Linked DNA regions of Homo sapiens: region 1 is linked to region 2. Evidence: promoter capture Hi-C in 16 types of primary human blood cells and fetal thymus (Javierre and others, 2016). All regions are on one chromosome and are shown on one strand. Each heading gives the region's core, a stretch centred on a gene start or on the middle of the fragment in contact. The rest is flanking DNA. Distances are from core to core; before and after follow the strand shown. Region 1 overlaps STXBP4 (syntaxin binding protein 4). Region 2 holds the start of PCTP (phosphatidylcholine transfer protein).

The links. The method cuts DNA at HindIII sites, captures the fragments that hold promoters and counts their contacts. A CHiCAGO score of 5 or more calls a contact.
Region 1: a fragment that was not itself captured here is called in contact with the fragment with the promoter of PCTP in region 2 in 1 of 17 cell types (erythroblasts); the score reaches 5.7 in erythroblasts.

Annotation. Positions count from the first base shown.
Region 1 is chr17:54,979,172-54,985,470 of GRCh38, forward strand. The region is part of intron 1 of STXBP4 (syntaxin binding protein 4); the gene reads left to right. Among named protein-coding and RNA genes, the nearest start is that of STXBP4, 14 kb to the left of the region's middle. The HindIII fragment of the contact is 5,509 bases long and covers 1,072-6,299 here.
Region 2 is chr17:55,746,464-55,752,715 of GRCh38, forward strand. PCTP (phosphatidylcholine transfer protein) reads left to right here and starts at 4,588. Exons shown (of 6, transcript NM_021213.4): 1 at 4,588-4,781. The coding sequence starts at 4,641. RefSeq lists a silencer at 4,386-4,725. The HindIII fragment of the contact is 1,470 bases long and covers 3,189-4,658 here.

The DNA of each region.
Region 1 (6,299 bases), core at 2,576-5,075, 770 kb before region 2:
TTCCCCAGGTGCCCCTCAAAATGTTTTTGTTCTCTCACTTTTTCTAACCCTCTTTTTCTTTATTGTTCATAATTGTTTATTAAATGTGCTGAATTTTCACTTTTAAGGGATATTTTACAAACCATACCTACCTAGCATTTTTAGATACTTCTGACCCCAGCCACATCTTCCTTTTTGAACATAAAATCAAGGAGTGCCCTATGTGTCCTTATTGCTCTATCAGGAATCTGGTTACTTTATATAGTGTGTGAACCCAAGAAAGCAATTAAATCTCTCCTTTATGCCCCTGGAAAAGCTAACAGTGCTCTCTGCTAAGAAAAAGCCTCCTTTAGCCCCTTTCTTTTCTTTTATTCCCTCACTAACAATATACGCATAAGCCCTCATACTCAATATGAACTGAAATTCTCCAATCAGTCTACAGCCATACCACCCTGAACATGCCAGATCTTGTCTGAAAATCCCCATTTTATCAAGATAATTTAGTGTATCTTTAGAGACCTCTAGATGGCCAATAGCTTCTGACAAAGCACTTTTCTTATGAGCTTTTTAACATTATTATGAAGAGACTATTTGGACTTAGTATTAAAGCAACAAATCTTGCCTTCACTGGTATCATACTGTCCTTCCCTTTCCTTCTGGTGATCATTTCACTTTAGACAAACAACTAAAAAGACATTAGAGCTCTTGACCTCACAGCTCATTAAATACTTCAAAGTAAATATAAAAGTACTCTGGCAAGGAAGGATGGGAATTAGGCTTTTGCTTACAAAGCCTTTATAGGTCTATTCTAGATGTATTATTTTAGACTTTGCAATGACAGCTTAATAAATCATCTACTTATTTGTTTGTGACAGGTGTCTGTGTGTGTGTTGTTAAGTAAAATGCAATTGTATGTAAACCAATATATTACAATTACATAATTTTTAACAAAAATATAACACGTATGAATTGTGCCTGGTTTTTTCTTCCACTGCTTTATTAGTAACATTTTTAAATGAAGACATATAATCATATAATCAAGCAGAATTTGGGGTGGGAGGGAAATTATTTTCTAGAAGATGAAACACTTAAAGCTTTCCCAAAATATTTTTTGTTATTTACAAAATAGTGGATTTTTAAAAGGCATTAAATTAACAATAAAAAAAAATAATACCTAGGAATTAACTAAATAAGAAATGTGCAGCTGTTACCAGTGCAGGGTCTTGACTACAAGTCGTCCAGGTTCTTGGCAATTTGAACAAAGATTTGGACAAAATGCACAAACAAAGCAAGGAAAGAATGAAACAATGAAAGCACAGATTTACTGAAATGAAAGTACTCTCCACAGAGTGGAAGCAGGCTGCAGCAAGTGGCTCAAGAGCGCTGGTTACAGAATATTCTGGGGTTTAAATTTCCTCTAGAGGTTTTCCATCGTTTCCTTGGTTACACCCTATGTAAATGAAGGAGTGGCCTGCAGCTAATCAGAAGTACTTTCCATTTTTCATCTGCCATGCAGTGCAAAGGGAGTAGCCTCTCATCCTTTTGTGGAGAGGTAGGGTTTTCCTTTTGATTCAGTTCTAGGAAGTCAGCACCAATCAGCCTTAGGCTCCCTGCCTCCAGACCCTATTCTCCTGCCTCACAAGGTCACTGTGAAGGCAACTTTAAAACACAGTAGAAACAGGCTTGTCCCATCTGTGGCCCATGGGCTGCATGTGGCCCAGGACAACTTTAAATGTGTTCCAACACAATTTCGTAAACTTTCTTAAAACATGAGATTTTTTTGCGTTTTTTTTTTGTTGTTGTTGATGATTTGTTTTTAAGCTCATTAGTCAATATTAGTGTTAGTGTATTTCATGTGTGGCCTAAGACAATTCTTCCTCCAATGTGACCTGGGGAAGCCAAAAGATTGGCCACCCCTGCTATAGAAGTTCACAAAAGAAGATTTGAACAAATAGAAAGTGATACCAAATTCCTGGATAGGAAGACTCAAAATAACATCATAGATAACAATACTTCTTCAATTATTTGTAAATTTAGTGTGATTCCCTTACAAATAGCATTGTTTTGTTTTTTAAACAAGATAAGAATACTTTGAATTTAATGTGTAAAAATAAACAACCAAAAACAACCAGGGAAACTTGGTTAACAAAAGAACAAATGAGAGATGATCGGCCTTACTAGATATGATAGTGCCTCTGTAATTAAAATAGAATGGCATTGGTGTACAAATAAACAACCTAACCAAAGGGCCAGAATAAAAATTACAGAAGTAGACCCAAACACTTAAGAGATTTTGTATATGATGAAAGTTGTATCTCAAAATGGTGGGGAAAAGATTTAATAAATGTAGTTGAGACAATGGGGTGGTCTTCTTGGGAAAAATATGAGTTGGATCTGTGCTTTATATTATGATGGATTCCAAATGGATCAAATATTTAAAAATGAAACCATAAGAGTACTGGAAGAAAATATGAGAGAATTCTTTATAACTTTGGAGTGGGCAAGGAGTTTCTAATTTGACCTAAAACCTGGAAATCATAAAAGATTCATAAGTTAGCCACAAACTTTTGTGTAACAAAAAGCCCATAACCCAGAAGAAAAGGGGGGAAAATATATTTGCAATTCTTAATGCTGATAGAGAGATAATTTCTGTAATATTTAAGAACTCCTAGAAACTGAACAGAGAAAGACCTAACGATAAATAGAAGAATTGGCAAAAGATGTAAAAAAAACACAGTTCACATAAAAGAAGATACTGAATGGTTCTTAAAGCATAAAAAAACTCTTCTGCCTCACTCCAACTACCTTGAGATACCATTTTCATCAATAAAACTGGCAAAAATCCAAACGTTATTTAGTATACCATAGTGGAGAAAATTTAGAGTAACAGGCACTATAGTTGGTGAGATAGTAAATTAGTACAACCCTGACTGAGGGACATTTGGCAATTTGTATCAATTTCATTATGGCATTTTTGTAATTTCATTAAATTAATATTTACTATAATTTCTGGCAGAAGATATTTTTATCCCTTTTATTTTCTCTATTTTTTGTCCAGTGAAAAGAACTGGTTTTATTGAATACCATGTCTGAGAATATAAATTACTAAGTCTTACTCAAACACCATATGCGTTATGGACAGATTTTTTTAATCTGATGAGATTTCTAATTACATGGGATGAAGATTGTTTTAATGAGATCATAAGTAAACAGACTTATCAAAGAAAAGCTCTAATTTAAGTTTTCTGGAATAGATTCATCTTTAACAACAAGATTTTTTTTCTCCAATGTTCCACTTTCTCTGTTTTTGCTGACCTGTTTGCCTCTTATGATTCACCAAACTAGAATAACAATATATTTGTCTTCAATGTTCATATTTTTAGTAAAAGAACAGAATGTTTTCCTTCTGTGTTATTTATTAATTATGGGAACTTGAGGGTGGTTTGTGTGTGTGTGTGTGTGTGTGTGTGTGTGTGAGTGTGGTGAGTATGTGTATGTAACATTACTGGAATCCCTGTTGGCTGAGGGCCTTGCAAGTTTGTATAAAGAGAGAGTAGGAAGCAGGCAAAGGAGAGGGAAAGGACAGGCATTTTATGATATTTAAGGACATGACAATGAATACCACTGTTGGGATGGATAAGATTAAACCCACTTCTGTTTAATCAATAGTGTCATCTTTATATAAAAGAGATAACACATTACCACTCCTTACTCTCTCATTCCACTTTTTTGGTGAATCAAACTTTTTACCTGAATTAATTTTCCAGCATACTGTAGTAGAAACAAACAGCTTGGGTTTGGAGCAAGAAAGAGCAGGGTTCAAACTCTACTTTACAACTAGCCTGTGACAATGGACAAGCCACATACTTTCTGTATGACTTATTTTTCTTTTGTATAAAATTGGGTTAATAATACCTCCCTTGTGGGGCTCCTGTGGGAAGAAAATCCTGTAACATGGTGCCTGGCTGTATTCGTGTTTAATGATGACTTAGATCCCAGGTTACGCAGCCTTTCTCCATACTCCCTGTGTATACTGCTGTCAGAGCACTTCACCCCTCCTGATCTCATCTCATCTTTGGCACTTAGGACACTGCCAGCATGTTAAGTGAATGGAATAAACACCTAAATTTTATTTTAAACCTTAAAATAGAAATGTTTTAAAATGTCTTGTTAAGTATATTATATGGAATCTATTGTAGAGTAGCATTTATACATCATTAGGCTTGAATATGTTCCCAGGGGACCTGGGGACCTGTGTCCAGTTAGAACAACTCACCAAAGATGAGGATCTTACTCACTTTGGTACCAGTAGAAAGACTGCTCAGTTTTTCACATCTGCTTTTGAGCAAGGTGTTACTATTCTTACCTTACTTAATAGGAGGAGATGCTAAGAGGTTAGGCAATTTTTCTAATGCCATATTACTAGCCCATGGCAGTATTGCCATTTGAACTCTGCATTTCTTTTCTTTTTTTTTTACTTATGTCTAGTACATTTTCCACAATATTAAATAAATACATTTGGAATACATAGTGTGTGAAACATAGTGCCAATTAATGGTAGTTGCTATTATTGTTATTATTTGAGAATGACCTCTCTTGAGGTTTGAGAATCTGCTCCATGCGTGTATCATTAAAGCAGTCTATAATGAACTTATGCAAACTTAGTTTTAGAATTGAACTCTCTTCCATGACTATATCAGTCTTGTGGACAGCTGCAGTGGCTCTTGACTCTGAGAGACTACTAGTCAAAGCCCAAGGATTTTAAGCTCCTCCCTCAGGTGGCCCTTCTTTTCCTCATGGGTACTGAATAACTTTCTTACTTCATGGTCATTGGACTTTTGCTACTGACATTGTGGCTTGGTGGCTTCATTTTTCTGGCTGCTGTTGATCTGCATGCTTCCACTGTTCCTGTTGCTTGCTACTACAGAGGGCGTGAAAGTCGAAATGTGTTTTTACCACCCAGACCAGTGAATACATTGCTATGTTAGGGTCTCAAAAGTAGTTGGCTCTGTGTTTGGGGCCCATTCAGTTAATTTACGGAAGAATCTATGATTTCTTCTGCATACAGTGGTTGAAGAAAAGATAGGATGATCCTCTTGATTTTAGTCTTTAATCTCTCAGTTTTGTTCTCCCTAGAACTTTTTGTTTCTGAGTCTTCAATTTCTCTGGGACTCTCTTTTTCTTTTTTCTTTTTTTTTTTTTTTTTTTTTGAGACGGAGTCTGGCTCTGTCGCCCAGGCTGGAGTGCAGTGGCACGGTCTTGGCTCACTGCAAGCTCCGCCTCCCAGGTTCACGCCATTCTCCTGCCTCAGCCTCCCGAGTAGCTGGGACTACAGGCGCTGCCACCACGCCCGGCTAATTTTTTTTGTATTTTTAGTAGAGACGAGATTTCACCGTGTTAGCCAGGATGGTCTCGATCTCCTGACCTCGTGATCCACCCGCCTCGGCCACCCAAAGTACTAGGATTACAGGCGTGAACCACCGCACCCGGCCAGTTTCTCTGGGATTCTTTAAGATATGTTCCTCCTGCACCTGTTTCCTAGGCCAGAATTTTGTTGTGAATCAGTTGCTGATGTGCTGATATATTGATTCTCCTCAGCTTTTCAGAGGATATCAGCTTTCTTTACCTTAGTATGCCATACAAATATTACCATTATGTGTGTGCTCAGACTTAAAAAATGTTTAAGAAGCACTGCCCTAAATTTCAGCTTCTTCACCCCTCTTTTACCAATTATCACCCAACCATCTTTTTTTTATCTTCCAAAAACTTGTTCAAAATTTTCATCCAATGGCTCTTTTCCCATTTACTCTTCAACATTCTGAGTTTGTACTGTTTGTAACTCTTTACCCTAAGACTTTCATATTAGTTGGCTCTTGGGAGGGAAAGAATATATGTGCCAAGGTCAAGATGCCATTTTTAACTGAAAATCGGGTTTTTTAAAAGTTTAACTTTATTAAGCTATAATTGATTTACAACAAACAGCAGATATTTAAAGTGAGACAGTTTGTTACATTTGACATGTATCCATTTGTGAAATCATCGCCACAATCAAGGCACCTACTGTACCTCTGTAGAAACTGAGGCTTGGAGAAGCCCAAAATTTCAAATGAGAACCCAGGCCTATCAGATCTCAAGGTCCATCCTGTAGACTATAACCTGAGTTCTAGTTAGGAGAAGAAAAACAACAACAACAACAACAACAAAAACACTATTTTTCATTTGTGAGGGAAAACCACACAGTCTCTGAATCTAGCTCCTCATTTCTTCAGGAAGAGAGTTGTACTAAATGATCCTAGTGTCTTTTTCAACTTTAAGTTCCT
Region 2 (6,252 bases), core at 3,338-5,837:
ATTTTCCACTTACTGGATTTGTCTGATTGGGGTCTTATGACTAGTTACAAGTTAGATATTTTGGCAAAAATGTTTAGGTGATATTATAAACTTATTGCATCATGTCATGGAGGCTGTGATGTCAGTTGTCCCACTATTTGTGATGCAATTGATAGCTTGGTTAAGGTGGCAACCACTAGATCTTCCCATTATAAAGTTACACTTTCCTGACTGTACGTAGTAAGTAATCAATGGGTGATTCTTTGCAATCAAATGAAAAGTCTAATCTGCATACCCTTTCACCCAGTGGTTGCAGCATCCATTTATGATCCTTGCCTAAATCTATTAATTATTAATAGGGGGTCAAAGAATGCAAGTTTTCAAATGTTGACATTCTTTCTACCTGAATTTTTTGGCATTCTTTTCTAAAGAAGAAATTTTCTCCTCTCTGTCTTCCCTATTTTTCTTCCCTACTTTTTTTTTAATTGAGTAACACTGTGGACACACAGATTTCTTTTTAAATCCAATATTTTATAATCTATTACTATAACTATTCTTTGTGATCTCAAATTTCCCAAAATTTGGAGACTGGGAACTCTTTCAAGCCAACTCCCATATCTTTTAGACATAACTCTAATTGTCTTTGAACGTCTCTCCTTATTCTCAGGCACAACATGTTTTAGGCTTACTTTAGAAGTTCCCTGCCCCAGTTCTAGAATCAGTCTTTTTTCCAAGAATCTTTTAGTAGACAATGATATACAGAAGCCAAGAACTGGCCACAGGTGCGCTCAATGCTAATGGCATGCCAATGCTTCTAGGCTTCCAGATCATTTTAATGGACAGATCAAGGAACACACACACACACACACACACACTGAATTGTACTGCATTGCTGAATATATCACAACTCGTTTTATCCATTCACCCATTAAAGGTCATTTGGGTTGTTTCCAGTTTGGGGCTAATACAAATAAAGCTTCCATGAACATTTGTGTACAAGTCAATGTTTGAACAATGCTTTATTTTTTTCTCTTGGGTGAATACCTAGGAGTATGATGATTGGATTGTATGTTAAGTGTACGTTTAACTTTTTAAAAAAATTGTCAGTTTTCCAAAGCATTTGTACTGTTTTCATTTCTACCAGCAATGTATCAGAGTTCTAGTTCCTCAGCATCCTTGCCAACACTTGCTTTGATTAATCTTTTTAATTTTAGCTATTCTAAAATAGCCATAGTGGCACTTAATTGTGATTTTAATTTACATGACCCTATTGACTAATGTTGTTGAGCATCTTTTCATATTCTTATTTGCCACCAGTATATATTTTTTGGTGAAGTGTCTGTTTAAATTTTTTTTTTTACCTATTTTTATTGGGTAGGTTTTTTTTTATCATTGATTTGTGAGAGTTCATATCCTCAAAGTTTAATATGCACAGTTAAAGTAAACTAAAAAACACTAAAGTTAATATCTTGCATCTGCCTCCTTAACACAACTCTGATCTTGCCCTCCCTTGTTCCAGGTTTCTGTAGGTTAGAACTTTTGTTCCACTTTATTTTTATATGTGCCTTTTTTTTCTGTATTCTCCCCACCCACCCATCCCATCCCCTGGCCTCTTTATTCTCTGATTATTGGGCTTCAGTAAGAAGTGTTTAGCCTTTTCAATGTGTCCTTCGTGTTTCTTAATTACTCTTTCATGTTTTCCATTTCTTTATACCTCTGTTCTGCTTCCTGGGAATTTACTCATCACAGCTACTTTCTTATTCCCTGATCTCTCTTGAACTGTGGTAGGGCAACCATTTTACCTTTCTTTTAAATTTTTAATTTTAATAACTATATTTTGTATTTATGGAGGGTCTACTTGGTTATTTTTCAAAGTCAATGCTCTTCTCTTCCCCATCTGCATTCTGAATCACATTAAAGGTAGATGCTAATCAGACAATGGATCAGCATTTCACCTTTATTACAAATAAAGCTGCTTGGAGAACAGGGCTTGGGTTTGTGGCAACAATAGAATTATAACACTCTGCCTATAATCAAACTTGCCATCCAGGCACAGGCATCATTAGGAAACCTAGATTCTGGTGTCAGAGCCTGTCCTCTTGAGTCTACTATAAAACCTAAGGCAGATGAGAATGCATATTTTCTATGAGTAGACAGTTGCCAAAAAGGAAGAGCCAGAAGGGTTGATCTAGACCTGACCAGTAGTTCCTTCTCCTAAACTCATCAACTACAGTCATGCACATCATAATAACATTTTGGTCAATGTTGGATTGCCTGTATGATGATGGTCCCATATGATTATAGCACCATATTTTTATTTTACCTTTTCTATGTTAATTAGGCTTAGATACACAAATACCATTGTGTCACAATTGCATTCAGTATTCAGTACAGTAACATGCTGTACAGGTTTGTGGCCCAGGAACAATAGGCTCTACAATACAGCCTACATATGTAGTAGAATCTACCATCTAGGTTGGTTTAAGTGCACTCTATGATGTATGCTTTAGGATGCAATTGCCCGATGACACATTTCTCAGAATATATCCCTGTCATTAAGCAATGCATGGCTGCATTTAAATCACCCATCTTCTCCAGAGTAGGAGTTGAGCAAATGAGTGAGGTCAAACATTTCCCTAATGGAAGTTCCTCCACTGGGAAACACTGCATGGGGAGGTGGGGAGAGGACCAATCATCCATTCTAAGAATATTCAGGAGCTGGTGTTGCTGGCTTTCATTCTCTCTTCCCTTTCTGAAACCTGGAAGTATCCTTTTTCACTTTTCAGCTAAACCATGTATTTACAACTATTTTCAACACGTTTTAACCAACATTTCCATGTTTGAAGCCAGGAGCTTTAGTTGCCATTTTGCCAGAAGTTGTTTCAGAGAGTTTTTTTTCACAAAGGAAACAGGCTATTAAGGCAACTTCTCAAGAACAGGCCTTCCTGGATCCCTTTCCTAGCTGTTTTTAGACTTTAGAGATACCATAAAATATTTCCTAACATTATTCTTTCATTAACTGTAATAAAATAACTGAGTGTAAATCTCAGCATATTCAAGGATATATTTATTTTTCTCCTGAGTTTATTAGGCAACACACTTTTAAACACATACAATAAATACAATTTGAAGTGCGTGCTTTATATCTTGCATGATGTCGTTTGTGTTCTTATGCTTGTCTCCATTAGTCTATTGCCATATAGTAATAAAGCTTTATCAAATCAAACCTTTATAATGGATTCCTTGAAGATACTTGAAAATACTTCATAGCCAATAGTTTTTACACAATTGGTTTTTCAAGCAATGAATTTCCATTTAAATAAAATATGGATTTACAATACATAGAAAATTTACAAGGAGTTATAAAACAGTGGGAAAGTATGTCTAGCCTAAACTTTTGTGCATTTAGTCTAGGAAAATTTCACATCCCTCTTTCCACACCTATAAAGCCAAACAGAACCAGGACTGACTTGAGGAAAGCAATTATTTATCTCTGCTGTGTCTAACTAAGCAAGCTGCCAAATGTGATCATTTGCCTGATTGGAAAATCACATAAATTAAGACTTTGCCATCAACTTTCTTTCAAGTAAGGAAAGAAAAGCATTTCAATATAGTAATGCAAAACAAGTGGAAATTGTTATTGAACATTTACTTGGACGGGCACTGTGGAAAATTATTCCTTGTCCAACCACCTCCTCAGCTGTAACTGGTAGCACAATTCTTGACCCATTTTACAGATTAGGAAACATGAGTTTCCAGAGTTTATTGGCACTCACGTGGCTGTTACATCGTTTTGATGTTCAAACGACCTACTTTATTCAAAGTCAGGTAGTACAGTCTGCTGGTGGGAAATACAGTATTACTCAAGGGACTTCAAAGGAACAAGAAGATGTTTGAGTTGCACAGTGAGCTAAATTATGCAAGTTGCAGAAATCCTAGGTGGATAGTACGACACCTTTCAGATCAGTTTCTACCCTCAAGGGTGGCAACAACCTTGTAGATCCATTATGGATTAGGTTTCTAAACTGTTTTGGTGTTATGAACCCCTAGAGTCTTCTGGGGAATCCAATGGACCTCGTCTCAGAATAATGTTTTACAATGTATAGCAGAAAGAAGAGAAATTATATTGAAATACACTTCTGGCATTTGACCCCTTAGGATTTTTCCAGCATTTCTACTCTGCCCACCTCTCCTCTCATGTCTACCAAAGAGACTTTCTCTACTTTATTCAGAAAGGTAAATGAGAGACACTCAAACAGGTCTGTAGGTTATGGGAGTAGCAGGGAGTATGGGATAGGCTACTGAGGAGCTGTTTTTGAGGTGACATCACTGTCTCCCTTCCTTTTTCCCTTCCCTCTGGAAGCCTCCTTACTTCTCCAGCTCTTCCTTCCTTCCCCACATCAAGTCCAATTTTTCTCCTTTTACTTCTTGTCTATCCTCCTCACTCCTTGCTCAGCCCCGCCCGCTTTTCTAGGCCCGCCCCTCCAGGGCCCCACCCTCAGGCCGCTCCTCCAGTCTAGGCCCCGCCTTCTCCTCAGTTTCCTGCCAATGACGCTGGGGCAGCCGGGGCAGCCGGGGCAGCCCGGTCACCCCGCCCCCAGGCCCACACTAAGGGTGTCCGCGGCCTGCCCTCCAGGCGGAGGAGCCCGGACTGCGGAAGGATGGAGCTGGCCGCCGGAAGCTTCTCGGAGGAGCAGTTCTGGGAGGCCTGCGCCGAGCTCCAGCAGCCCGCTCTGGCCGGGGCCGACTGGCAGCTCCTAGTGGAGACCTCGGGCATCAGCATCTACCGGCTGCTGGACAAGGTAGCGGCCAACCCGCTGGAGGACCGCGGGGCCTAGAATGCGCCGGGGTCGACCTCCCCGCAGGGAGTGCGGGGCGGCAGTCGCGGAAGGGACAGGGGCGCGTCTTCTCCGGCTCAGGAAGGAGCTCCGCCCGGACCCTGTCTCAAGCTCTGGAGCTAGCGCAGGGGCGGTGCCTCCAAGTGACTGCCGTGCAGATCCAGGGGAGTTGGAAGGTCACAGGAGTTCAGCCTCAGGTCAGGCCCGACGGGGCATGTAGTTAGAAGTTAATGACAGTTGAAACGTGGGTCAGCTGGTTCCTAGGCCCGTGCACACGTCTGCAAGGGACGTTGATCCTCACTCTCCAATGCGTGTCAGTGGCATATGGGGGCTGGGGTGGGGGAGGGGCGGTATCTTAGGGCTTGGATATAGGAGGAAAAGAAACAGAACTTTTCAAGGACTGGATGTGCAGGGTGGTGTCAGGGGTTGCCGAGAAGGGCCCTACTGTTTTAGTGACTCGTTTCTTTTGGTTGTTGCCCCTTCCTTCCAAGTTGCTCTTAATAAGTTGAGTCCGAATCTTCAGGCAGGAGTAAAGATGTAGGAGGAATGGGATTGGTTGTTGAAGTCTTTGGAATCAGGTAGCCATCCAGGTGGAAGGCATTGCCCCTGAGGCCTGTCATCCAAGGCTTGTCATCAGTTGCTTTGTGTAATAGTCGCAGCATGGCAAGTAGGTTAAAAGTCGCCTGCAGGTAATGTGGGTGAAACTGAAGTTTCCTAATACAGGACCAGGATATTATAGTGTTAGAGTTAGGAGGATACCTCATGCTCACCTGGTTAAACCCCAGGTTTCATAGGTGAAAGCAACAGGCCTCAAGGGTGAAGTCACTCCTGAAATGGCCCAGATAAGTGAATAGCAGAGGTGGGATTGGAGGGTTCATGATCTTGTGAATGTCAAACATGTGGTTGCCTTTTTAGGCACTTGCATTTTTGTTTACATCAAATATAGTGTTTTTATATTTTAAAACAGAAAACAAACGTTTGCAATATTTAGAAGTTGCTCACCTGTTAAACAGGAATGAAAACTCTGCCTGTCTCATTGCAGGAATGAAAACTCTGCCTGTCTCATTGCAGGGTTGTTAGGGGGTTCAAATCCAATCTGTCAGATATGTGTGAAAATTTGATAGCTGTAAATAACTCTACAATGCACAGGACAGTGACCCCATACCTCTCCCGGGGAAGAATTATCCAGTCCCAAATTGTAATATTGCCAAGGTCAAGAAACCCTACTCTAAATAAATGGAGAATATAGGTATTATGAAGAAATTTCCTGTCTAAATACATATATATTTGCTTTGGATGCAGTCCGTCCCTCTCCAGTTAGTGGGACTGTAAAACATGCTATTTGGAATACTTACAAATTAGTAGGGCTGGCCTTTACATAATCCAGAACACAGCAGATACTGCAAGTGGCTAAGCTGCCATATTTACTTTTTTT